Linked DNA regions of Homo sapiens: all the other regions are linked to region 3. The links are contacts of gene promoters, found by promoter capture Hi-C in human tissues and cell types (Jung and others, 2019). All regions are on one chromosome and are shown on one strand. Each heading gives the region's core, a stretch centred on a gene start or on the middle of the fragment in contact. The rest is flanking DNA. Distances are from core to core; before and after follow the strand shown.

Region 1 (3,857 bases), core at 389-2,888, 70 kb before region 3:
TAGGAAGAGAGGAAGTCAAATTATCTTTGTTTACAGATGACAAGATCCTATATCTAGAAAATCCCATCGTCTCAGCCCAAAAGCTTCTCAAGCCAATAAGCAACTTCAGCAAAGTCTCAAGATAAAAAAAAATCAACGTGCAAAAATCACTAGCATTCCTATATAGTAACAACAGGTAAGCAGAGAGCCAAATCATGAATGAACTCTCATTCACAATTGCTACAAAAAAATAAAATACCTAGGAATACAGCTAACAAGGGAAGTGAGAACTCTTCAAGGAGAAATACAAACTACTGCTCAAAGCATCAGAGGACACTAAACAAATGGAAAAACATTCCATGCTCATGGATAGGAAGAATCCGTATCATTAAAATGGTCATACTGCCCAGAGTAATTTCTAGATTCAATCCTGTTCCCTTTAAACTACCATTGACATTCTTCACAGAATTAGAAAAAACTATTTTAAATTTCATATGGATTAAAAAAGCCCAAATAGCCAAGACAGTCCTAAGTAAAATGAACAAAGCTGGAGGCATTACACTACCCATCTTCAAACTATACCTCAAGGCTACAGTAACCAAAACAGCATGGTACTGGTACAAGAACAGATACATAGACCAGTGGAACAGAATAGAGAACTCAGGAATAAGACTGCACACCTACAACCATCTGATCTTTGACATACTTGACAAAAACAAGCAATGGGGAAAGAATTTCCTATTTAATAAATGGTGCTGGGAGAACTGGCTAGCCATATGCAGAATATTAAAACTGGACCCCTTCCTTACACCATATACAAAAATTAATTCAAGATGGATTAAAGACTTAAATGTAAAGCCAAAATTACAAAATCACTAGAAGAAAATCTAGGCAATAACATTCAGGACATAGGCACAGGCAAAGACTTCATGGCGAAAACACCAAAAGCAATCAGAACACAAGCAAAAATTGACAAATGGGATCTAATTAAACTAAAGAGCTTCTGTACAGCAAAAGAAACTATCATCAGAGTGAACACACAACCTACAGAATAGGAGAAAATTTTTTGCCATCTATCCATCTGACAAAGGTCTAATATCCAGTTTACAAGGAGCTCAAGTAAATTTAGAAGAAACAAAAAAATCCATTAAAAAGTGGGGAAAGAACATGAAAAGACACCTCTCAAAAGAAGACATCCATGTGGCCAACAAACATATGAAAAAAAACCTCAACATCACTGATCATTAGAGAAATGCAAATCAAATCCATAATGAGATACCATCTTACACCATTCAGAATGGCTATTAAAAAGTTAAAGAACAATAGATGCTGGTGAGGTTGCAGAGAAAAAGGAATGCTTTTACACTGTTGGGAGTGTAAATTAGTTAAACCATGGTGGAAGACAGTATGGCAATTCCTCACAGACCTAGAAGCAGACATACCATTTAACCCAGCAATCCCATTACTGGGTATATACTCAAGGGAATATAAGTTATTCTATTATAAAGACACATGCATGCATATGTTCACTGAAGCACTATTCACAATAGCAAAGACGTGAAATCAACCTAAATGCCCATCAATTATAGACTGAATAAAGAAAATGTGATACATATATACCATGGAATACTATGCAGCCATGAAAATGAATGAGATTATGTCCTTTGCAGGGACATGGATGGAGGTGGAAGCCATTATCCTCAGCAAACTAATGCAGGAACAGAAAACCAGACACCACATCGTGTTCTCACTTATAAGTGGGAGCTGAAGGATGAGAACACATGGACACATGGTGGGGAAAAACACACATTGGGGCCTGTCAGAGTGGGAGGTGGGAGGAGGAAGAGCATCAGGAAGAATAGTTAATGGATACTGGGCTTAATATCTAGGTGATGGTATGATCTGTGCAGCAAACCACCATGGCACATGTTTACCTCTGTAACAAACTTGTACATCCTGCACATGTACCCCTGAACTTAAAATAGAAGTTGAAGAAAAAAAAAGCCATTTTAACACCAAAAATGCAAAGCTGTTCATCTGGCTGAAAATTTCATCATAGATTGGTGGGGTGAGGGACCTGTGGTATACTACTTGATTTTTCTATTAATTCCTTATTTCTAATCATCATTGCAGACAAATGGTAGTGACTACTAGGGTTTATTACTCTTCCTTTTAGAATGCTACTCAAATGTAACTATAAATGTCATTATCAAACTGTAAAAATTAAATATCTTACCCCTGAAGTAGGCAAGGACTAGGTACATAAAACCTTACCTTTCATCAACAGGCCAATTAGTTGACTGTTGTGCAAGTTTCAAGCTTGGGGACCCATCTCGTCACTTAACAAAATTATTATTGCCTTTTAAGTAGTCATCCCCTGCTTTTCCCTAGCACTTCTAGCTTGTGATGCTGTAGCTCTGGGGAACATGGAGAACAAACTGGAGCAAGAAAATTCCTGTTTTTTGGTAAGATACTGCATCATATTCCCAAGCACACAACCTGGAATCCATACCTACTCAATTCCAGGGTCTTTGGTGACAAGTCACTATAGCCATCAACTGCCTTATCAATTCTGGAATTATGGGGGACCCAGCCTTGAGCTAACATCTTTTCTTAGATAACAGGAAACATTACTTGGGAATAATTTCACTTACCTAAGAGAAATGTAGAAAGTCCCTGAAAGTCAAGGAATGAACATACAAAACTAGATATCTTTTTTTCACTGTAGGATTTTTACTTTTTTTCTTTCTCATGAATTTTAACAAAATTTGTTCATTTGCTTTTAGTGTCCAAAAGGCACAGGAATAAGAAACAAAGATAAATGGTTTGGTGTTCTACCTATCAAATTAAGCATCACATTTTCCAAGATTGATCATAATTCTGATTATGGTAAAAGTGCCCTGTTATTTCCTAGCATGGTCAGATTTACATGAAAATATGCCTGACTTTGATTTTTAATTGTCCTCCCTCACCCTAGGATTCTCACTTGGCTCCTGTACGTCTGCAGACAGCAATGCACCACACTGGTTGCATTGATCTCTCCCTAAGCTGCCACCTGCCATCGCCTCCCACCTTTGATCCTTTGCCATCATCAGTGTCTTCAAACAGCACTGCTGTGTTCTGCCTGCAAAAACAAGCGTACTCCTCAGTGGAAAAATACCACATTCCAGCTTGGTGAAGCAGGTGGTGTGTTTCATAGGATGGAGCAGAAAGTAGCATCTCTTCTTCTCAAACAAGAAGGAAGACTATTAGCACATCAGCACAGAAAGTCGTGCATGATGAATCTTAAGTGCTGCCTCATAAATGAAAATGTGGTAAAGTTTGAAAAATCAGCTTTGAAAATGTATTAAGTCCATTATTCAAACCCAAAGTCTTAATTTTTTTAAAAAACCAATTTTCCCATCTTTCAAATAAGGGGGATGGAGCAGATGATGTTCAAGATGCTCAAAATTCTTTTTGCTCCGTGAGATCTAAAACCTGACCTTGGCATCACGTAATGACCATCACAGTCAACACTGCTCACAACATATACAATGGGATGCCTGGTATGTTTTACAGCTATTATCTGGACTAAATATCCCATTTCATTTCCAGCCTAGGTAGACAGAAGATGAAAAGGTTTGTGTTTTTTTCTTTATGTGGACAATCCGAATTCATGTAATTATATTACTCAGAGTCTGGGAAATGAAGAAGCAACAAACATATTTGAACATCAGAGTTTCTGCTACAGGCTCAGAATAACTCAGTTTTTAATTTCTCTTCTTGGAAAAAGGTTCCTTTTTTCCATGAAGGCTCACTCTTCTGAACAGGACCAAATGGAGCTTCAACAACATGGATACAAAATACCACAACCAAGAGTGGGAGCTGTGCCATGCCAC
Region 2 (3,381 bases), core at 340-2,839, 110 kb after region 3:
GCATGTGCAGTGACCACAGTCCCCAGCACCACTGACCCCTGCCTGTGTGGAGGGAATTATTGGTAGCCACCCCCTTTCACACAGGTGACTTTTGTTTGGCAGACATAATAGAAACTACAGGGCAAACATGCACCCGTCAGCCATTAGCACAAAGGGACTGGCACCTCATACCTTGCTTCCATCTCATCCCGCCACCAACATTCCTACCTCAAATTAGAAAAAAACCAAATGTGAAATTCTTGGCCAGCCACAGATATGCTATTGTGTGAAGCTGTTCAGTCGTCCCTTTGTCAACCGTGTTGTGAGTGCCTGCCATGCACCAGGGATGGTGCAGGGTGCTGCAGACACATCATTCAATGAAACAGAAAGCCCTGCCCTTAGGATGCAGACACAAAGTAAGCAAGTTATTCCATTAGTGTCTCACTCTGGGGGAATTAGAAATAGTGTTTCCAAGGGGTATGTGAAAAAATGACAACGGATCCCCCAATCCTTCTGAACTTACCAACACCCCTGTGTGTTCTAAATCCCTGATCATCACGGAGGGGGTGAACTTTTGCTCTCTGGTTCTAGTTGTCTACATCATGGTAGACAGAGAACAGGCACTGGTGTCCTGATTACCCCACAGTTTCCTCATCAGTAAACAGGGGTAACAGGACGCCCTCTTACCTCAGGTAAAAGCATGGTGTAAACTCTAAAGCATGAAGGAAACCTAGCTGCTCCTTCCATCAGCAAGAGTACACAATGCATGATGCAGAGGTTATGCAGAGTGACTGAGTGCGTGCCCAGGGATCAGACTGCCTGGTTCCAACTACAGATCCTTAGCCCGCTGACTATATGATATCAGGCAAATTAGCAACATCTCTGTGGAAGGCAGAACGACCCTGAAAAATGTCTGTCTCCTAATTCCTGGAACTTGTGAATGTGTAATGTTTTGTGGAGGGTATGGAGGGATTAGGGCTACAGGTGGAATTAAGGCTGTTAATTAGATGACTCCCGGATGAGAGGGAAGCCTGGATTATCCAGGTGGGCCCAGTGTAATCACAAGGGTCCCTATAAGTGAATAGGGAGGGGGGAGGGTCAGAGAGGGATGTGAAGAATGAGGGAGAGGCCAATGGATTCTCCTTGAGGCTTCAGGAAGGACCACAGGCCTACGGATGCCCTGATTTTAGCCCAGTGAGACCCATTTCAGACTCCTGACCTCAGAATTGCAAGTCAATAAATTGTTATTTTAAGGCATGAGGTTTGTGGTAATATTGTTACAGCAGCAATGTGCCCAGTTTTGTCACCTTTAAATTGTGAGGAGTAATAATACCTATCTTACAGAGTAGTGTTATTATTAATAACAGTAATCTCGTGGGGTAAATGAATTAGTACATGTAAATGTACTAAAATGTACTAAAAGAGCAAATGAATTAGTACATGTACCAGTCTTAGAACAATGCCTGGCACACAGAAGTGGATTAATAAGTAGCAGTATTCATCCAAATGAGGGGTTCTGCTAAAACTGCTAGGAATACTAAAACTGAGCAATAACACATTTCCTACTTTTTGAGCTATGTATTTTGAAACCTAGGACTTCCAGAGGTGATGAGGCCTGTGTGGAAAGCTGGTGTTTTTGCAGAACTTACTGTCCCCATTGGTGAGTGCCCCATTCTGCTCACTGCTGGCAGGAGCATCTGTTGCCAGGCTAGTAACTGAACGGCTGAACATCTCCTTGTCTGAAGGCTGAAAACAAAAACAAAAACAAAAACAAATGCATCACATTGCTAAGAATCTGGACTGCAGAGCAGAGGAGAAGATCCATGGCTTTTTCAAAAAATTAAAACAGCAGAAACAGAAAACAGAATCTCCTATAATAGTCCCCCCTTATCTACAGAGGGTACATTTCAAGACCCCCAGTGGATGCCTAAAACCATGAGTAGTACTGAACCCTATATAGACTATGTCTTTTCCTATCCATATATGTTATACCTATGATGATGTTTAATTTATAAGTACAGTAATTTAACAATAACCACTGACAATAAAACAATATAATATAATGAAAGTTATGTGAATGTGCTCTTCCTTTCTCTCAAAATATCTTGTATGGTTCTCACCTATTTTTGGATTGTGGTTGACTGTGGGTAACTGAAACTGCAGAAATCAAAACTACAGATTAAGGGGAGCTACTGTTTTTAGATTTAAATTAAGTAAAATAAAATACACTAAATTGAGTTCCTTGTTGACTAGTCACATTTCAAGCGCTCAATAGCCACATGTGGCCAGTGGATACCATATCCAATAGGAGATACAGAACACTTCCAGCACTGCAGAAAGTTCTATTAGACACTGTTGTCCCAGAATCTTAGGGGCACTGGGAATCTTCCAAAGCCATGTGCAGAGCTTCCTGCCTGGTGACCTACACAGGGCTATAGGCAGGTTGTGAGATATCAATTCCCTTAGCTCAAGGCAGGAAGGGAACTGGTTGAAAAAGACCACAGCAGCCTCATCCTTACAACACAGGTGCTGTAAATCATTATTGGTAAAGGTGTGCCATGCTATGAGAAACGTGGAAAGGCATCACCCTTTGTCATGTGAAGGGAACAGACTTAAATCTGGTCAGAGATAGATAAGGCTATTGATTTCTGAAACTATTTTAGAACCAGCAAAGCCTCTGGCTGCTAGGTTCACAGAAACAATAATATGCTGAAAATTAGCTCTGCAAACTTTTTATTTATTTATTTATTTATTTTTTAAGATGAGGTCTCACCTTGTTGCCCAGGCTGGAGTGCAGTAGCATGATTATAGCTCACTGAAGTCTCAAACTCCTGGGCCCAAGAGATCCTCCTGCCTCAGCCTCTGGAATCGGTGGGACTACAGGTATGCACCACTATGTCTGGCTGCTCCCATAAGAGATGGGATCTTGCTATGTTGCTCAGGCTGGTCTCGAACTCCTGGCCTCAAGCGATATGCCCACCCCAGCCTCCCAAAGTGCTGGGATTACAGGCGTGAGCCACTGTGCCCAGCTCTGCAAATCTTTCTTATTCTTACAAATAAACTTAGGACATTTGGAGGGAAGAATGGCATCAATAGTTGGTTTTCTGCAGGGATAGAATGTGTAGATGCTACCTAGAACAATATGCCTGGCTCAGCTATAGCTAAGAGTAGTCAGAAAGCAAGTTGGTGTTCATGTATTTCTTTAAATACCCAACTTGTCTCAGGTTGCAGCCCAAATCACTGCAAATGTGATTTGCTCCCTGTTCTTCTCACAGCCTGCACGTTCCAAGAGGCTATCTCATGCTCCAGGATTCTACAAGGAAAGTTGTGATGTAAACAGCACACAAACCTTTGCTAGTTGGCCTCACAAATTCTCTGACTCTTGATTGGAAGCCAGTAATA
Region 3 (3,897 bases), core at 458-2,957:
AGATTGACAAGAAACACCGCTTTCTGGTTTCAATAAGCTTGAATAGCCCTCAAAATAAGGAGAAGGGGACACTCCTTCCTTGGGGGAGAATAAAATCTCACTCTCCCCTGCCTCACCCGTCCCCACCGGGCACGAACCGGCGCCTCCGTGGTCCCATCACCCAAGTTCCCCACCTCACTGGGGAGAAGCGCCCTTTCCCGGCACCCACACCAAACAACAAACCCGACACGGCCTTTGAGGAAAGCGGGAGCCGCCGCCTGGGAGAGACGCAGGGGCCCAAGGCGCAGGCAAATCAACAGTTCCTCGCGCTGCCCCGCGCGGCCGCCCGCGCCGCCTGACACACCCCTCCTGGCCGGGTCTCTCCCCGGCGCCGCTGACCGTCCTCGGCCAGGCGCCTTGCCCCGGGGCCCGGGCCCGTCCCCCTCCCCGGGCTGGCGGGTCCCACGCGCGCCACCGCGCCCAACACGCACCTTCAACGCGCCCCGGGCCGGGCCCCTGGGGACTGCGTGGCCGGGTCCGAGGGGCACGAAACGCTCCTCGCCGTCCTCGTCGTCTTCGTCGCCGTCCACCACCTCGACGACCACCTCCTCGTCCTCCTCTTCCTCGTCGTCATCCTCCTCCTCCGCGCCCCCTCGGGGCTTCTCCTCCACACGCCCGAGCCCCCTCCGCCGCCTGCTCCCGCCCTCCTCGTCCTCGTCTTCCTCCCCTAGAAGCAGCAGCACCGGCGACGAGGCGGCGGCGGCGGCCCCGGTGGCCCGAGGGGGGCCGGTCCCGGCGCTGCGCGGCGGCGGCGGCAGCGGCGGCCTCCAGCTCTCCGGGGCGGGCGCCGGGGCCGGGCCCGGGACAGGGGGCGGGAGCCCGGGTAGGGCGGCTTCCTTGGCGGGCGCGGGCGCCGGCCCGGCAGGCTGCAGCGCGGCGCCCCCCCGGCGGCTGCCCAGGCTGGAGCGCTTGGCTAGACGCCGCGCCTGCATGCCTGAGCGCGGGGTTGCGGGCCGCGGCGCGGGGCCGGAGAGTTTGTCACCTCCTCTTCCTCCTCTGCCTCCGCCGGTGGCCGCAGGGCCGGGGACTCGCGGCCGCAAGGGGCTGCAGGAGCCGCCGGCCAGGACCCGCGGCTGCCACTGGCTGCAGAGGCGCGGGCGCCGCCTTCGCTGGACCGGCCGGCGGGGACGCCGGCGGCCGGCGGCTACGGCGGGGCGGCGCGGCGGCCGCGGGCGGGGGTGGGTGTGAGCGAGCGGCGCGCTGCCGCCTCCGCCGCCGCCGCCGCCGCCCGGGAGCCGCGGGCCGCGCTGCGCTCCATGCGGCCGGCGGCCGAGCCCGCGCGCGCCTCTCCCGGCCGGCTGCGCCCGCGCGCTCCGGGCCTACCGCTGCCGTGCCTCGGCGCGAGCTGTTTGTGTTGTATGTTTTCCACCACCGCCCCCCTCTTCGCGAGCCATTCCTCACAACCCTCCGGTCCCCCCGCTCAGACAAAACCCGGACTGGATTTTTTTTTTCTCTTACCCACAGTCTCCGAAAGTCTGGCGCTTCGAAGCAGTTGGCCCTGACACCAGGGCAAACGCTTAACCGCAGCCCATTCTTCCCTCCGGAGGGAGGGGAGTAGACTTCGCTGGAAGTAAGGTTGTCTGTCAAAGTTAGACTTTGAACGTAGAGATTTGCTACAAGTCATTTTAATGGACACTGATGTGCATGGCAGCTACTCCTGAGCTTGTGTGAAATCAAGGAAGGTGTACCAATCTGAGGTTTGGGATGAATTCCTAATATGAATCATCAGAGTCGCTTAGATTTTCGAAACACTGTTTCATGAGCGATTGTCTACCAATCTCACACTCTTTGAACGCACCACTCTAGGCCCTGCGATTGAGCTGCCTTGGCTCTGTGCTGAGTGTGTAGGTCTTTCAGCTTTTACTCCTGCTATTCTACCTTGAGTGCCTGATTTTAATGGCTGAATTCCAAGAAGCTTTCTGTTTGCACTGTCTGATCTGTAGACTCTCTTCTGGCATTGTTCAGGACTTTGAAGAAACAAATGGGTGGGAGTTCAAGATCGTTTGAGTTGGTTACTTAAGAAATTAATATGAAGTAAGACCAAATCTGGAAATCAAGCACATAACATGACTAATTTTGCCATTTTCTGACGATTTTTAGGTGTGATAAAGAAAATATATTTGCTATTGCGTGGGGTTAGGCTATGTAGTAAGTGGTATTTCTTCTTTTATTTATTTTAATTTTTATTTATATATATTTCTTTATTTTTCAGATGGAGTTTCGCTCTTGTTGCCAAGGCTGGAGTGCAATGTCATGGTCTGGGCTCACTGTAACCTCCGCCACCTGGGTTCAAGCGATTCTCCTGCCTCAGCCTCCTGAGTACCTGGGATTAAAGGCGCGCTCCACCATGCCATGCTAATTTTGTATTTTTCGTAGAGACAGGGTTTCACCATGTTGGCCAGGCTGGTCTCAAACTCCTGACCTCAGATGATTTGCCTGCCTTGGCCTCCCAAAGTGCTGGGATTACAGGTGTGAGCCACCGTGCCCGGCCTTAAGTCGTATTTCTTACATTCAAATCATACCCCCAATTCCATCCCTGTAGAGGAGGGCTGGGGAGGATCTTACGCATCAAATACCCTGGTAGGCACCTCCGTGGGGCCAGAATAAAAGGTGTATTCACCTTCAGTTAATTATTGTTGGACATTTAACATCATATGCTCTGTTAGACACTTGAATGGGGCTCATTAAATGCTCACTTATGGTGGCTTCCAACTGTTGAACAGGGATGATGACAAAGATTCTAAAATGAACTTTTTGTTCTCCCTGAATCAGATTAGCTTCCTGATGTACCTATTTCAGGTGATGAAACTCTCATTATAATCATTTGAGCCCAAAATAGCGGTATCATTTTAACTCCCTTCTCTACCTTATCCCTAGAGGCAATTGCCCACAAGTCCAACCCATTGTTCTTTCTAAAATGCATTTTGAATCCACCCCTTCCTTTCCATTCCCAAAGCTCTTACAGCATTTTGTGACTTCAAAAGTGGAAGTTTCTAACAGTTCTACACACCCATTTTCTCACCCACACACCCTCCCTTTCCCTCCTCAGATGCCACCACCAGATTTATGTTTCCGAAACCCCATTTAGATCACACCATTTTCTTGTTGGACTTTATATTTGTAAATATTCTGTTCAGGAATTCAGAGAGAAGAAAACAGAACATTAAGAGATGGGTGTGTCTGATCAAAGCATGGAATAGCAGGGGCTAGCCAATAAGTGAATAATCAGTATCAGCTAGAGTGTGCAAAGAATTAAGAAAGAACATTAAGGTGGTTTCATCCCAATTGGAAGAAATTTAGCTTCGTTGATTTGGGAGATGATTTTAGAGTGAGGCAGCAGGATCTTTCTCTGGCCATGAAAAGGAAAGATCGGGGCAAGGGGTGGGCAGACAGGTATGGAGGAGGTGGAGGAGGACAAAGGTGTGAGGCAAGCTGGCTAGTAGTTAGGCACATGGTCTCAGGAGCACCTAGGTCCGAATCCTGACTCTGGAACTTACCAGCTTTACTTTTACTCATCCTCTTTCTGTGCCTGTTTCCTCATCTGTGAAATGGGGATCATAGTAGTAAAGTTGTTTTGCAGAGTAATGAGTGAATAAATGCAATCAGCTTACAAGAGTGCCTGGGACAAGCTAGGGTTTATATGCGGGCTTATCATACTAAACATTGTAATGGTAGGTAAACAAGGTGGCTTGGGATACTCTCAGAGAATAACAAGGTAGCTCTCTTTTAAGTAAGCTCAGTAATGTCAGTAACTAGCAAAATGTGCTTTTAAAGACCAACAACTTGTCATCGGAGGACCATGGTCAGGCCAAGCATGTAGCTTTTTGTGCCTAAAATTGCTATAGATGAAAGAAAGTA
Region 4 (3,824 bases), core at 662-3,161, 110 kb before region 3:
TAAAGCATACACTTTTTTCATATTTTAATATGTTTGAAATCAGGTGCATTTTATAATCAATCAAGTTATATCACAGTTTAATTGGCAGCATTATTTTTCTTTATGAATTACACAGAAAATAATGCTGTATCTTAAAATACATAGTGCCTTAGATGTAATAAAATATGGTAGTATTATCCCCATTTTACAGAGAAAGAAACTGAGCCTTACAGAATTTGAGTAACTTGCCAAAGGTTATATAGCAAGTAAGTGGCAAAGGAAGCATGTGATCCCAGGTTTTTCTGACTCCAAAGTTCATGCTCTGAACTGGTACACTATACTGCTTCCCATCACATAGAAACACTAGATTTAAAAAACATTCATCCATTCAGCACTTAGTATCTATCATGAATAAGACACTATACTAGGAATGCAAGGAGTAGAAACATGAGCACAACAGCTTTTAATGTGACTGATTAGGGACTGTGGGCACCTGAGCAGTTAACTAGAATGTTCAGCTTTGTAGACTTTTGATGGACCCTAGAGTAACATTATAGTTAAGCCTGAGCTTTTTTTTCCAGGGCCTTTTTTTTTTTTTTCCACTAGCAAAATATCTCACACCTGCATACAAGCTTTGGACTGGGTGAGTAATATTTAAATCAACATTTTGGTGTGGCAAACAGACTTTAAGATGCCCCCCAATGATCTCACCTCCTACAGTTCATACCCTTTTTAATACCCTCTTTACTAGTGTGGCAGGACCTACGACTTGTTTGTAACCAAGAGAATATGGCAAAGGTGACGATGTGTCACCTTCATAATTAGGCTATACAGACTGGGGTTCCACCTTGCTGGCTCTGATGACGTTGTCATGGTGGGGAGGCCCACATAACAAGAGACTGAGGAGAGGTCTAACTCTAGTCAATAGCAGCTAGGAATTAAGGCCCTCAGACCAACAACCCAAAAGGAAGTGGATCCTGCCAACAACCACATAAGTGAGCTTGGGAGAGGATCCCTCCCCACTTGAGCTTCCAGATGATACTCCAGCCCTGGCTGACACTGTATTTTATTTTTGGGACAGGATCTTGCTCTGTTTCCCAGACTGGAGTGCAGTGGTCTGATCATGGCTTACTGCAGCCTCAACCTCCTGGTTTCCATCAGTCCTCCCATCTTAGCCTCCCAAGTAGCTGACCACAGATGCATACCACCACACCCAGCTAATTAAAAAAATACATTTTGTAGAGATGGGGATCTTACTATGTTACTCAGGCTGTCTTGAATGCCTGGCTTCAAGTGATCCTCTTGCCCCTGCCTCCCAAAGTGCTGAGATTATAGGCATGAACCATTGCATCCAGCCCTGGCTGACACTTTAACTTTAGGCCCATGAGAAAGACCCTGATGAGCAGTTGACCCAGCTAAGCTGTGCCCCTATTCCTGACCCACAGATACTACGAGAGAATAAGTTTGTATTGTTTTAAGCTGCTAAATTTGTGGAAATTTGTTATCCAGTAATAAATAATACACTTGGTACTATGTTTTGAATGTACAGGTGTCTCCAAAATTCACAGATTGGAACCTAAGATCCAGTGTGATATTTTGATTAATGAGGCTGAATTCTCATGGATGGGATAAGCACCTGTATTAGTCTGTTCTTGCATTGCTATAAAGAAATACCTGGCCGGGCACGGTGGCTCACACCTGTAATCCCAACACTTTGGGAGGCTGAGGCGGGTGGATCACGAGGTCAAGAGATCGAGACCATCCTGGCCAACATGGTGAAACCCTGTCTCTACTAAAAATACAAAAATTGGCTGGGTGTGGTGGCATACGCCTGTAGTCCCAGCTACTCAGGAGGCTGAGGCAGGAGAATTGCTTGAACCCAGGAGGCAGAGGTTGCAGTGAGCCGAGATTGTGTCACTGTACTCCAGCCTGGTGACAGAGCGAGACTCCATCTCAAAAAAAAAAAAAAAAAAAACCAAAAAACAAAAAACAAAACCTGAGTCTGGGTAATTTGTAAAGAAAAGAGGTTTCATTTATAAAGAAAAGAGTCATAGGTCCTGCAGGCTGTACAGGAAACATGATGCTGGCATCTGCTTGGTTTCTGCAGAGGAAACTTATAATCATGGCAGAAGGTGAAGTGGAAGCAGGCATGTCACATGGCCACAGCAGAAGCAAGAGAGCGAGCAGGGAACTGCTGCACACTTTCAAATCACCAGATCTCACAAGAACTCATTCACTATCACGAGGACAGCACCAAGGGAGATGGTGCTAAACCATTCATGAAAAATCCACCCCCATGATCCAGTCACCTCCCACCAGGCCCCACCTTCAACACTGGGGACTACAATTCAACATGAGATTTGGGTGGAGACACAGATCCAAACTGTACCAGTACCCTTATACAAGGGCTGCAAGGAATTACAGAGGCCCTCTTGCCCTTCCACTCTTCCACTACATGAGGACACAGCAAGAAGGTGCTATTATGGAAGCAGAGAGCAGCTTCACCAGATACCAAATGCCGACACCTTGATCTTAGACTTCTCAGCCTTCAGAACTGTGAGAAATAAGTTTCTGTTTTTACAACTTACCCCAGTCTCAGCTATTTTGTTATAGAGCAGGAAAGAACTAGTACAATTGGTTAAAAGGTAAATTTCTTTGTGTCACAGACATTTGTGGTGCTCTCAAATAACTGGCACTAAAAATTCTAACTATAAATTTAACCTTTTTGGGGGTTTGGGCCATAATCCTGAAAGACACAATCCTAAACACTATAATCCTGAACACTGAAATCCCCAAAAATCATAATCCCTAACATCTAAAATCCTGGAAATCACAATCCTGAGAGATCAAAATCTTGAAAATATAATTCTGAAAAAATAACTTAATAAAAATTCCTTGAGACATTTATTTACATTTTTGAAAAGGAGATTTGAGAAACATCTAAAAACATGATAAAATATGTTGTAGGCCACTTTACACAATAAAATAGGCAAGAACTAATATACAGATATTTGTAAGCATAAACACTCAGGTATACTAACAATGGTCACATGGGTGTAAAAGTTATGAGAAGACAAATCATATTCATAAATAGGTCAAAAGGCAAAATGTATAAACAAAGTCACTGTGGTTGGTAATTGTGTACACCCAGCTTTATAACTGTGGCATCTGAAATACCTTGATAGATAACCTAAGTCTTTTGATGAGATCTGTTAATAAACTTCAATGGGTCACCACCATATATGCAGTTGCCCAAAGAACCAAGATCTAAAGAAATTTTATCTTTAACAAATGCAGGTGTACAAAAGGACATCTTCATTTACTGAGGAAGTTTCAATATTTCTACATATGCGCACAATGCTTATACCCAATGTTGTGATAATGCACTTTTGTGAAGTCAAATTGGCCAAAAAAAAGCATAAAATGAATTAGATGTCTCTAAAAATCTTGACACAATTTATACCTCCAGTATTGGACATGATGTGAAAATGAAATACATCACATAGCAAATTGATACTATGTGTGAAGGGGCAGAAGTCATAAGTGACTGAATAGTTTGGCAGGTGTATTACTTCATTTTCATACTGTTACAAAGAAATATCTGAGACTAGGTAATTTATAAAGGAAAGAGGTTTAATTAACTCACAGTTCCACATGACTGGGGAGGCCTCAGCAAACTTACAATCATGGTGAAAGGTGAAGGGGAAGTAAGGACCTTCTTCACATGGTGGCAGGAGACTGAAGTGCAAGCAGAGGAAATGCCAGATGCTTATAAAACCATCAGATCTCATGAGAACCCACTCACTGTCACGAGAACAGCATGGGGGAAACTGGTCCCATTATCT
Region 5 (3,769 bases), core at 50-2,549, 67 kb after region 3:
TCAGAGAATTCTCCCCTTCATGCATTTGTATTAGGGCACAAAGAATAATTTGATTCCAACTTGGCTATTTATGCAGGGAAATAAGGATGTCTAATACTTACATAGAAGCTTCCCAAACTAAGATTAAAATGATGTACTTTGTATGAGAAAGCAAGTCACTGGTGACCCAAAGGAAATCTATAAATATGAATAGCAGGTGCAGTAACAATCTCATTGATTGGAAATTAATAAGGAACAAGGAAAACTTAATACTGGTAAAATGTGTGGATAATATCCATTTATTCATTTATCTTAAAAAAATTATAAATTCCTATTTTGTGCCAAGCATTGTTCTAAGTGCTAGAGATTGAGTGGTGAAGAGACAGTTCCTGCCCTTGCATAGTTCACATTCCAGTGGTGGATATATAAACTCAATAAACCAATGTACTCTTATTGTCAACAATTCTTATTTTATTAATAAAACAAACAGAGAAACAGGATAGAGCTTGACTGGTGGAGGCAGGAGACAGATGTGAACATGGCATGGACTATCTAAGACAGCAGGAAAGTCCTCTCTGTGGAGATCCCATCTGAACCAAAGCCTGAATGATGAGAAGTAACCAGGCCTGTGGTGGGTGTCAGTAGAACATTCCAGGCACAGGAACAGCAAGACCAAAGGCTTTGAGGTGGAGACTAGAATGAAGGCAAATGTGGCTAAAGCAGAAGGAAAGAGCAAAAAAGATAATGGAAAATTATTCATTTAAATAATTCATTTAAGCACCAAATGCATATTTTTTCTCTTTTGGTCGACTGTATTGAAGTGCAATTCATGTAAAATAAACTGTACCTAATTTAAAAGTAAGGTTCAATGAATTCTGACACATGTGTTCACTTTAACTTACTCTAAGACCTTATACATTTTCTCTGGCTTTAAAAATTTTATAGTTTTAGATTTTACATTTGGGTCTATGATCTATTCTGAGTTAATTGTGTTTAGTTTAAGATAAAGGTTAATATTCATTTTTTCCCCATAAGAATCTAGTTGTCTCAGCATCAGTTGTTGAAAATCCTTTCTCTATTCGATTATCTTGGTGTCTTTGTCAAAAGTCAGTTGACTCTGTACATGTGTCTCTGTTTCTGTTGCGTACTATTGATCTGTAAGTCTATCCTTTCACTAATGCCATATCTTCTTGATTATGTAGCTTTACAGTAAGTTTTGAAATCCAGGAGTGTAAAATCAGTTTTATACTTTTTTAAATATATAAAATGATTTGGCTATTTGAGATTCTTTGATTTAGGGTATGAATTTTAGAATCAGCTTGTTAATTCCTACACAAAACCATCCTTCTGGGATTTTGATGAGGATTGCATTAGGGCTATAAATCAATTTGTGGAGAGCTTATATCTTAGTGATTTTGATTCATGAACATTATATATCTCTTAATTTTATTTGGGTCTTCTCTCATCAGCATTTTATAGTGTTTGGCTTATATGTCTCATACGTATTTTGTTAAATGTATTCCTAAATATTTTGTATTTTTATGCTTTCATAAATGACTTTTCCTACAAGTTTATTTTTCAAATTTTTATTGGTCATATACAGCAATACACTTGATTTTGTATATTGACCTAGCATTTTGCAATCTTGCTAAATTTACTTATTACTTATGTGGTTTGGTTTGTTTGAAATGAATTACAAAGTGTATTGGTTGAAACATATCGGTTTATATGTTTGTAATTGAGGTCTAAGGCAAAAAGGAGGCTGTGATGTTCAGGATGAGGGCACCTGAGCACATCTGGAGGCACCAGGCAGACTAAGCAGGGGCTGGGAGCAGATGAAGTCAATAAGCTATCTGGGAAAGTCCTCATTCTGAAAAGCCAGCAGATGGGCCAAGTTTAGTTCAAGAATATGCATTTTTGAAATGCAGATACCAATAAGAGGCAAGATCCTTATCTGCAGTCAAGGTTCTTTTTAATTTTTACTTAAATAATTTTTATATTTGCATAAGAATGCCAGGTCATAGTAAAAGGTTCTAAAAGAGCTATTTTACTAAAACCTTTTAAGGTAGATTATCCTTCGTAAGCCACTTGGGATAAAAGGTGACAGTGAACTAAAAAGACAAACGGGAATTTCATTTTTTCTATACGTGTGTGTGTGTGTGTGTGACAGACACACACACATACACACAGAACTTAACAAAAATTAAATGAAATTTAATGAAAATGTAAGACATGGCAGGACTAAAAACTCATCAAGTAGCTGTTAAAAATCCCATCCCCCGCTCTCCCTTTCCCTCCCACACTCTGCAAGCCTCCCTCCCTCACATCCCACAAGTACTTAAAGTCTATTATACTAAAACAATACAAAGAGCTGGATTTTTTGGTTTGTGTTTTGAATAATTAAGTATCATGGTTGAAAAACCATAAGGCAGAGCCAGCAGTGACCATGAGAATAAAACATTTTTTTGCTAGATTTTGAATCTCTGCAGGCTATGGAAAAGGGTCAAACTGACCTCATCTATCACTTATGGGCCAAGCTAGTCCAACTAACATCTGGAATCCACATGTGGCAACACAGGCTGCCTCTTCTTATCTCACTTCCTATCTTTATAGCAGTGTTGGGAATGTGCATATTTGCACTTTTGGAGAGGGTTCATCGGTGTAAGATTTAAGGCACTTCCACAAACATACAACCTTAGATTTGCTGGTTCGTTTTCCATGTGCTTGGGAAAGAGCTGCTCAGAGAGGACTGTGTAGGGAACCTCCTTGCTCCCTCTTCATGTCCAAGACTATGCCTGGATTTTTTTGTTCGTTCATTAATTTCTTCACTCATTAATTCAACAATTACTTATTGAGAGCCTAGTATGTGCCAAGCATTGTTCTGGATACTGGGGATCGGCAGCAAATAAAATAGACAAAAATATCTATCTTCATGGAATTTATATGCTAAGTCATTTGTTCAACCATGTGTTGCACTAGGACTTGGGTCTGATTTGACAGTTTCATTGGGGGAGGAGAAAATAATCACATTAGCATACAGCATGATAAGTGCTCATACAAAGGTAAGCACATGGTACCATGCAGTGAGTGAACCTATCCTGGGGAACCAGGGAGAGCTCCCAGTGGCGATGTGAGACTTGAGTAGGAATTACTTAGATGTCATAGTCCATTTAGCATTGATATAACAGAATGCCTGAGGCTGGTAATTTATAAAGAAGATAGGTTTATTTAGCTCATGTTTCTGCAGGCTGGGAAGTTCAAGATTGGGCAGCTGCATCTGGTCTTCCATGCTGCCATGCTGCTTCCACTTATAGCAGAAAATGGAGGCAGAGTGGGTTGTGCAAGAAATCACATGGTGAGAGAAGAAGAGAGAGCAAAATGAAGGAAGCCAGAACACTTTTTTTTTTTCTCAGAGACAAGGTCTTGCTCTGAACTCAGGCTAGAGTATGGTGGCACAATAATACCTCTTACTGCAGCCTCCAACTCCTGAGCTCAAGGGAGCCTCCTGCCTCAGCCTCCACAGTAGCTAGGACTACAGGTGCACTGTCACTGTTCCTGGAAAATACATACATATATATAGTGTGTGTGTAGATTGGGGTCTTGCTTTGTTGCCTATGCTGGTCTCAGACTCCTGGTCTCAGGCAATCATCCCACCTCAGCCTCCCAAAGTGCTGGGATTACAGGCCTGACTCTTTTTAACAACTGGCTCTCATAGGAACTAATTTATTCCTGTGAGAGTGAGAACTCACTTACTGCTGAGGTATCACGAGGAATCTGCCACAAGAACCCA
Region 6 (3,657 bases), core at 1,098-3,597, 90 kb after region 3:
GAGTCCAATCTGAAATCACTGCCTACCTCTCTTCAACCTTCTCCTTCTATATCTGTAGTTCATTAATATCATCATCTTCTATCCAGAGACCCAAGAGTTGTCTTTTCATCTCTATGCCCCTAATTCTGTACATCTTATGAGTAGCCAGATCCCTTTGTTACACCACCTACTGATGTCTAAAATTAGCATTTTTTCTCCCCATTTCCTCTGCCCTGGTCAAGCCTTCATTGGCCCATCTGAACTGATCTCCCAGCCTCTGATCTCAGCATCCCCCCTTGCGAACTTCAAGTGCCTCGGATGCAAGCCCCTTAACTCCTTGCCATCATATGTACAAATGTTGCCTGCATCGCCTACAAGGCTGTGAGTTCCAGAGGGGTTGGCGGGGGGGGTCTGTCTGATCCACCTTTGTGTCATCAGTACAATGCCTGGTAGGTTGGCTGTGAGTAAACCTACATGCTATTCATCTATCTGTTTATCCACCATCCATCCCTTCAACATATATTAATGAGGCCCTATTATGGGCAGGCACACTTGTAGGTAAATGAGAATATGGAAGTAAACAAAATAGATATTGCTGTCCTTAGATATGTTGCTTCTTACACTGATGCATACACTTAAACCTTTATAAAGACATTTTATAAATTTATGGAGTCAAACAGATCAGTGTTTTCCTCTATGATTTGTGCTTTTGTGCATTGCATATTTCAGTTCTAAACCATACATAATAAAGCCATAATAAATATCTCCCACAGCAGAATTTTAAGAACTCAGGCTTGGAAATAAAATTACCTGAGTTCAAATCTCATCTTTGCCACTAAAATCTGGACAAATTTGTTAACTATTCTATGCTTCAGTGTGATATCATTGATTACCATGAGAATAATTATTTAACTCATTAAAGTTGTTTTGAAGATTAAATGAGCTAATACAGTGAGATGCCTGTAGAATGGTAACTCATAAATAGTAAGCTTATATTATTGTAGCTAGTATGTTTGTTTCTTATTATTCTCTCTTTCGTCCATCTGAAGTTTATTTTCATTTATGGTGTAAGTTGGGAATTCAATTTTATGTTCTTTTTTGTTATTTTCTTTTCGTATGTGTTTTGTTTTGAGACAGGGTCTTGCTCTGTTCTCCAGGCTGGAGTGCGGTGACAGAATCATAGCTCATTGCAGCCTCAACTTCCTGGGCTCAAGTGATTCTTCTACCTCAGCCTCCCAAGTAGCTGGGATTACAGGTGTGTGCCACCATGCCCAGCTAATTTTTTAAAAATGATTTTTGTACACAGTGTCTCACTGTGTTGCCCAAGCTGGTCTGAAACTCCTGGCCTCAAGTATTATGTTATGTTTCATATGGAAAACCAATTTTTGCCAAACTTCTGTTTAAAATCTTTCAGTGGCCTCTATTTGCTCCTAATATCACAGTACAATTCTTTTTTTTTTCTTTTTTTTTTTTTTTGAGATGGAGTCTTGCTGTGTCACCCAGGCTGGAGTACAGTGGCGTGATCTCGGCTCACTGCAACCTCTGCCTCCTGGGTTCAAGCCATTCTCCGGCCTCAGCCTCCACAGTAGCTGGGACTACAGGCGTGCACCACCACGCTGGCTAATTTTTGTACTTTTGGTAGAGACGGGGTTTTGCCATGTTGGCCAGGCTGGTCTCAAACTCCTGACATCAAGTGATCCGGCCGTCTCAGCCTCCCAAACTGCTGGGATTACAGGCATGAGCTACTGTGCCTGGGCTATCACAGTATAATTCTTGATTTGATCTACTCTGCTCTGTGGAATCTGGACCCTGCCTCTCTCTCATATTTCCCTTTTTTGTGACTCTATCTGTGGTTCAGATACCCTGCCTTCTTTTGTGGTCCAGGAACATACCAGTGTCTTTTCCTCCCTGGGGCCTTTGCACTTGCTATTTTCTCTTCTTGGAATGTTTTTCTCCCCAAGTTTTATACTGATGCCCCAAGTCATTCAGGCCTTCCCTGACCACCCAGTAGAAAAGGTATCATTCTTCCTGCCCTAACAAACCAAGGCAGTCTCTATTTTATCATCATTTCATTAACTTTATTCCATTTTGTTTTACTCATCACATTTCGGATCTGAAATTTGGTTTGATTAATTATTTTTCTTCCCCTGCTAGAATGTAAGCTTCATTGGAACAGAAACCATTAGCTGTTTTATTTATTGCTGTATCCCCAACATCTAGAACAGTGCCCGGGAAATAGTAGATAATAATTAGTGATTAGTCTGTACTTTTCTCCTGATCCAAACAGGCTTGCTTTCTAGATGGATAATACTGGCAACAGTACGGAAGGTTGATTTGAGGTGCTACAGAGTGACTTAGGATGGGGACTGGCTGGACAAGGGCAGGAATGGTGGAGAAGGAGACATGCCGGAGGCCTGGCAAGCTGGCCCGTTATTGATTTATGTGTGCTTGTGTGAGAAGATCAAGGTTTTCCTGGCTTGGAGCCCTGGCGTTGGCTGTGCACCATGCCTGGAATTTCTTTCACTGGCTTATTATTTCAGTCTCACATTAAATGTAACCTGCTCATAGAGGCCTTTCTGGAGGCCTCTCTGTAAAGTGGATCTCCAGAGACTTGGTACAATCAGTGGAGACATTGAGATGCTGAATACCCTGAGAATTTAAACGTGTATGTCAAACATTTAAAGGTAGGCACTAAGGCCATTAGAATGTGAGCTCCAATGAGGCAGGAGTTCTGTCTCTTCTCTCTCACCCTGTTTCAGCTCCTGGCACATAGTAAATACTCAGCAAATATTTATGGAATGAATCAATATTTGGTTTTCCTGTGGCTTGTTTTGTTTTCCTGTTAACTTTGCTTTTCTACTTTGATGTTGCGATGATTAATTTTTTTTCCTTTGGGCCTAAACATTTAAAGCTGTTGCTTTGAATGACGTGTCTGTTTTAGAAGACACTCTGCCAGATTGTGGTGCTGTTTATCTGCATGTCAGATGTCTGCCTTCTTCCCCGTGCCACTGCTTTTTGGGCTGGTTTGACTTGGAGGATATCCCTATCTTGTTACCCTGGCATCTCTTCAGAAATTCACAGTCACAGAGAAGCTTTCGGTGGGGGAAGAGTTCAAGTATGAAATCCTAAGATTCGTAGGCACTAGTTCAAGACAGGCTTGTAAGATTATGGATGATAGAAAGGTAGGAGAATTCAAATCAAACCAAACATTTATTTAGTGCTTGCTGTGTGCAGGAAATTGTAGTGTATGCTACGGGGAATATTTCAAAGTTAATGTGCCCTGAAGAGCAAACAAGGCAGCTCGGAAAGATGATTCCACTCCAGAACAACCACATTTACATTGGGACATACCGAGGGAGACATTGTGGAAACAGATGTGATGCCTGGGAGACAGCTGGCTTTGGAGTGCCGAGGTCCAGCCTTGAGATTTTAAGAATCATCTAGGATGGGAGCAAACATTCAAAATGGCGACCTCAAAAGTACAGTAAGGTCCTGGATAACTCTTCAAAACTGAAAAAAATCGTATTGCAGATTGTATTCACAGAGGTAGAAAGATGGACCCAAGGAGAAACATTTAAAAAAAAAATGATAAAGTCTGGACTGTTTGGCTCACCTTAACTAGGGTATCAGAATTCTCCAGTCCTCTTAATGAGCACTTGGTAAATGTCTACGTCCTAG
Region 7 (3,964 bases), core at 1,395-3,894, 91 kb before region 3:
GCTGAAAAAGGCAAAGAATGGGTTCTTTCCCTAGACCCCCAAGAGGGAGCACACCCCTGCTGGATTTTGGACTTCTGGCCTCCAGAACTGTGAAAGAACAAACTTCTGTTGGTCAGGTCAACCCACAGTTCATAATCTGTTACAGCAGCCCTAAGAAACTAATACAACCTTCTTTCCACAAAATAGAAAAGTTTGGAAGAGAGCTGAATTGGAGAGAAGTGCTTAGAAACTGATCCACATAATTTATACAGTCTGTAGCAAAATTACAGCGTTGGATTAAAACACAATAAGTTCGGCAGAAAAAGTAGGGCAGAATCTTTTCCTTTCCCATATCCTTAGCTCATGATCATTAGTCTTGTCTCACTGTTCGCCTAGGGGTGAATTTCAAGAGCTTGCTTAAAATGTACATTCTTGGACCCCCATCTGTAGACATTCTGATTTATCTGGTCTGAGGTGGGGCTCAAAAATCCACAGTTTCTAAACCATCCCATTAACACAAGAGTGGGCAAACATTTTCTGTAAAGGGCCATATCTGTAAATATTTTAGGCTTTGTGGGTCATATAGTCTCTGTCACAGCTACTCAATTCTGCTACTATTTGCAAAAGCAGCCAATGACAATACATAAACAAATAAGCATGACTGTGTTCAATATTTTATTTATGCATACTGAAATTTGAATTTCATATAATTTTCACGTCATGAAATATTATTCTTCTTTTGATTTTCCCCCAACCATTTAGTGATGTACTAAAAACAGGTGGTGAACCAGATTTGGTCTATGGGCCACAGTTTGCCAACCTCAGCTTAAAAGTGCTGCACTTTGCGAATCGCTGCTTTAAATGTTAGGGCTGAGAATTTTCAAGCCAGTGACATGTCACGAACCAGCCGGAGAGAAAGGAATACACCAGGATAATCCCCAGCAAGTTGGCAGTCTCTTCTAAAACAGCAGCCCATAATGTGCCACCACATTTACAGAAGGGTGTCACTCATGGGAACATGGTCCTTCAGGCATGCCATAGACTTAAAAATAAACTGAGGGCCATTGTGCTGGAGCAGTGATTGGCAAACACAGCTTATCGACTGGATTGGGACTAGATGAGAAAGCCTTGTTTCCACTAGTTTAATTCCACCGTTTTTCTCCCACTGAAGAATGGCTGGAGAATGATGGAGATAGTCTCAAATTCACTCTAATGTATAGGAATAGTCCTTCATAGACATCAGTTAAATGTAATTAGCAATAAATGGCTTTTGCTATATCTCATAATGTTGAACTGTGAACTGCCACCAAAAATATTAGGAAATTACTGCTTAGAGAATGGGCAGTTGCCTTCCCCATCCCCGAGCAATCATCACTGCTGTCTTCTCTCAGTACCTCTTGCTTTGAGTTAGCGCAGCTGGGATATATTTATTTTCAAGCCTCTCTACCTGGGTTGCAGACACAAGCAAGTATGCATAACAGAAATCCATGACAGAACCAAGATTCAATAAGATCTCAACAAGCTGGAGCTCTGGGCTCGAAATAACAAGATGAAATTTAACTAGGACAAATGTAATTGTCTGCATTTACATTTAAAGAGATTCAATTATAAAAGCACAAGTTGGAGGAGAGACGGCTTTACAAGCAGCTGCGTGATGCAGCAGTTCAGAGGATAAAAGGCCTCAGGGATGTTTTTAACTAGAGTCTCAACAAGAGCTAGGGAGATGGGGCTGCTGAAGTACTTAATATAATTTTGGCTGCATTAATACAATTACGATGTCCAGATGAATACAAGAGTCCACTGTACTCTGAAATAATCACATGATATGTAGAGTCCTTCTGCTATTCTAGGCACTAGGTTTTAAAAGGAACGTTAATATACAATAGTAGGAATGGTATTTAGTAATGGGAGTGTAACCAGAAGAGGAGGACGACCAGGGTAAGAAAGAGCCTGAAAAAAGGGTTTCATTAAGGACATCTGAGGGATCTTGGGTTGTCAGCAGTGCTTTTGAGGAAGTACAGTCGCTGCTTGGTATTCGCAGGTGAATGGCACCAGGATGCTTCCCACCCTCAAGGATACCAAAATCCTCACAAAATCCTCCTGTCGTCCCTCTATGTGGGTTTTGCATCCCGTGAATACTGTATTTTTGATTGGTGTTTGGTTGTGGACATGGAACCCGCCCATATGGAGTGCCGACTGCACTTATTGAAAAAAATCCACATATTAGTGGATCTGAGCTGTTGAAAACTGTGTTGTTCAAGGGCACTGTACTTGGAAACCACAGAAATGGCATGGTTTGAAAGTTAAACTACAAAATCAAAGCATAATGGGTCAGGGCTATAAATGGATAAAGTCTATACATTTGCACTCCTGGAAACCAGATAACCAGACTGAACATGTGTGTTCAGCAGAGGTGTGTATGTCCACAGGGAGCAGGAGCAAAAGTAGGATGACAGAAGCAAACATTTGCCTTGCCTAGCCTGCCCTGTCCAGAAGAGAAGGCCTGTCCATCTAAGAAAGACCACAACATTCAACTGTAGGAGTTTGAAGCCATCACACATTTAAATTATGTGACTTTAGTCCATTCTTTTTATTTTTCCCCCAGCTTTTAAGTTCAGCGGTACCTGTGCATGATGTGGTGGTTTGTTACATGGGTAAATGTGTGCTGTGGTGGTTTGCTGCACAGATAATCCCATCACCTAGGTATTAAGCCCAGCAACTGACTTAAGTCCATTCTTGTTCTGACTCCATGTTCTCCTAGCAACTGGGGTAGCCTTTGGATAACGTGACTTCCATTCAGCTTGCCTAATGGGGGAAGGGGACATCATAGATTTCTTATTGGCATTTTTGAATTAATAAACTTTGTTTTTTAGAGCAGTTTTAAGTTCACAGAAAAATTGAGAGGAAAGTACAGAAAGTTCCCATGTTCCCCCTTCCCTCAACCTGTACAACCTTTCCCACTGCCGACATCGATCAACACAGTTACAACTGATGAACCTACACTGAGACATTATCACCCAAAGATCACAGTTTACACTAGGGGTCACTCTTGGTATTGTGCCTTCTAAGGGTTAATGACAGGCAGAGTCACCATTATAGCATCATACAAGGTAGTTTCACTGCCTTAAAAATCCTCTGTGTTCTCTCTACTCATCCCTCCCTTCCTCCAACCCCTGGCAACCACTGATCTTTTTACTGTCTCCACAATTTTGTCCTTTCCAGAATGTCATATAGTTGGAATCATACAGTATGTAGCCTTTTCAGATTGGCTTCTTTCACTTAGTGGTGTGCATTTAAGCTTCTTCCATATCTTTTCTTTTTTGCTGAGCACCCTCTGTCCTCATACTCCATATGTCTTTTTGTGGCTTGATAGCTCCTGCCTTTTTAGCACTGAATGGTATTCCATTTCTGGATGTGCCACAGTTTATCCATTCACCTACTGAAGGACGTCATTGCTTCCAAGTTTTGGCAAGTATTAATAAAGCTGCTATAAAGATCTATATGCAGGTTTTGGTGTGGATATAAGTTTTTAATTCATCTGGATAAACACCAAGGAGTGTGATTACTGAGTTGAGTGATAAGAATATGTTTAGTTTTGTAAGAAACTGCCAAACTGTCTTCCAAAGTGACTGTACCATTCTGCATTCCTACCAGCAACTACTCAGAGTTTCTGTTGTTCCACTTCCTCATCAGCATTTGGTGTTGTCAGTGTTCTGGATCTTGGCCATTTTAATAGGTATATAGTGATTTCTTGTTTCAATTTGCAATTTCCTAATAACATATGATGTTGAACCTCTTTTCATATGCTTATTTGCCATCTGCGTGTCTTCTTTGAGGAGATGTCTGTTCAGGTCTTTTGCCTATTTTTTAATTGGGTTGTTTTTTTATTTTTGAGATTTAAGAGTTCTTTGTATATTTTGGATAACAGTCCTTGCAAATATTTTCTCCCAGTCTGTGGCTTGTCTTCTCCTTCGCTTGACACTGT

What was found. Contacts are between HindIII fragments. The study calls those that stand out against the background at their distance.
Region 1: a contact is called between a fragment that was not itself captured here and the fragment with the promoter of ZNF704 in region 3, in 2 of the 25 tissues and cell types used here (heart right ventricle and thymus).
Region 2: a contact is called between a fragment that was not itself captured here and the fragment with the promoter of ZNF704 in region 3, in 2 of the 25 tissues and cell types used here (dorsolateral prefrontal cortex and psoas muscle).
Region 4: a fragment that was not itself captured here is called in contact with the fragment with the promoter of ZNF704 in region 3 in 2 of the 25 tissues and cell types used here (H1 embryonic stem cells and dorsolateral prefrontal cortex).
Region 5: a contact is called between a fragment that was not itself captured here and the fragment with the promoter of ZNF704 in region 3, in 3 of the 25 tissues and cell types used here (aorta, heart left ventricle and mesendoderm cells).
Region 6: a fragment that was not itself captured here is called in contact with the fragment with the promoter of ZNF704 in region 3 in 9 of the 25 tissues and cell types used here (adrenal gland, aorta, dorsolateral prefrontal cortex and 6 more).
Region 7: a contact is called between a fragment that was not itself captured here and the fragment with the promoter of ZNF704 in region 3, in 2 of the 25 tissues and cell types used here (hippocampus and mesenchymal stem cells).

Annotation. Positions count from the first base shown.
Region 1 is chr8:80,802,876-80,806,732 of GRCh38, forward strand. All of the region lies in intron 2 of ZNF704 (zinc finger protein 704), which reads right to left. Among named protein-coding and RNA genes, the nearest start is that of ZNF704, 70 kb to the right of the region's middle. The HindIII fragment of the contact is 3,589 bases long and covers 1-3,433 here.
Region 2 is chr8:80,985,742-80,989,122 of GRCh38, forward strand. PAG1 (phosphoprotein membrane anchor with glycosphingolipid microdomains 1) reads right to left here. Exons shown (of 9, transcript NM_018440.4): 6 at 1,629-1,725. Among named protein-coding and RNA genes, the nearest start is that of ZNF704, 110 kb to the left of the region's middle. The HindIII fragment of the contact is 9,585 bases long and covers 1-3,381 here.
Region 3 is chr8:80,873,074-80,876,970 of GRCh38, forward strand. ZNF704 (zinc finger protein 704) reads right to left here and starts at 1,708. Exons shown (of 9, transcript NM_001033723.3): 1 at 1,498-1,708. RefSeq lists a silencer at 387-587. The HindIII fragment of the contact is 4,011 bases long and covers 1-3,718 here.
Region 4 is chr8:80,758,721-80,762,544 of GRCh38, forward strand. The region is part of intron 2 of ZNF704 (zinc finger protein 704); the gene reads right to left. Among named protein-coding and RNA genes, the nearest start is that of ZNF704, 110 kb to the right of the region's middle. The HindIII fragment of the contact is 4,568 bases long and covers 1-3,824 here.
Region 5 is chr8:80,940,872-80,944,640 of GRCh38, forward strand. No RefSeq gene overlaps it. Among named protein-coding and RNA genes, the nearest start is that of ZNF704, 68 kb to the left of the region's middle. The HindIII fragment of the contact is 8,896 bases long and covers 1-3,769 here.
Region 6 is chr8:80,962,719-80,966,375 of GRCh38, forward strand. No RefSeq gene overlaps it. Among named protein-coding and RNA genes, the nearest start is that of ZNF704, 90 kb to the left of the region's middle. The HindIII fragment of the contact is 4,980 bases long and covers 1-3,657 here.
Region 7 is chr8:80,780,752-80,784,715 of GRCh38, forward strand. All of the region lies in intron 2 of ZNF704 (zinc finger protein 704), which reads right to left. Among named protein-coding and RNA genes, the nearest start is that of ZNF704, 92 kb to the right of the region's middle. The HindIII fragment of the contact is 4,698 bases long and covers 296-3,964 here.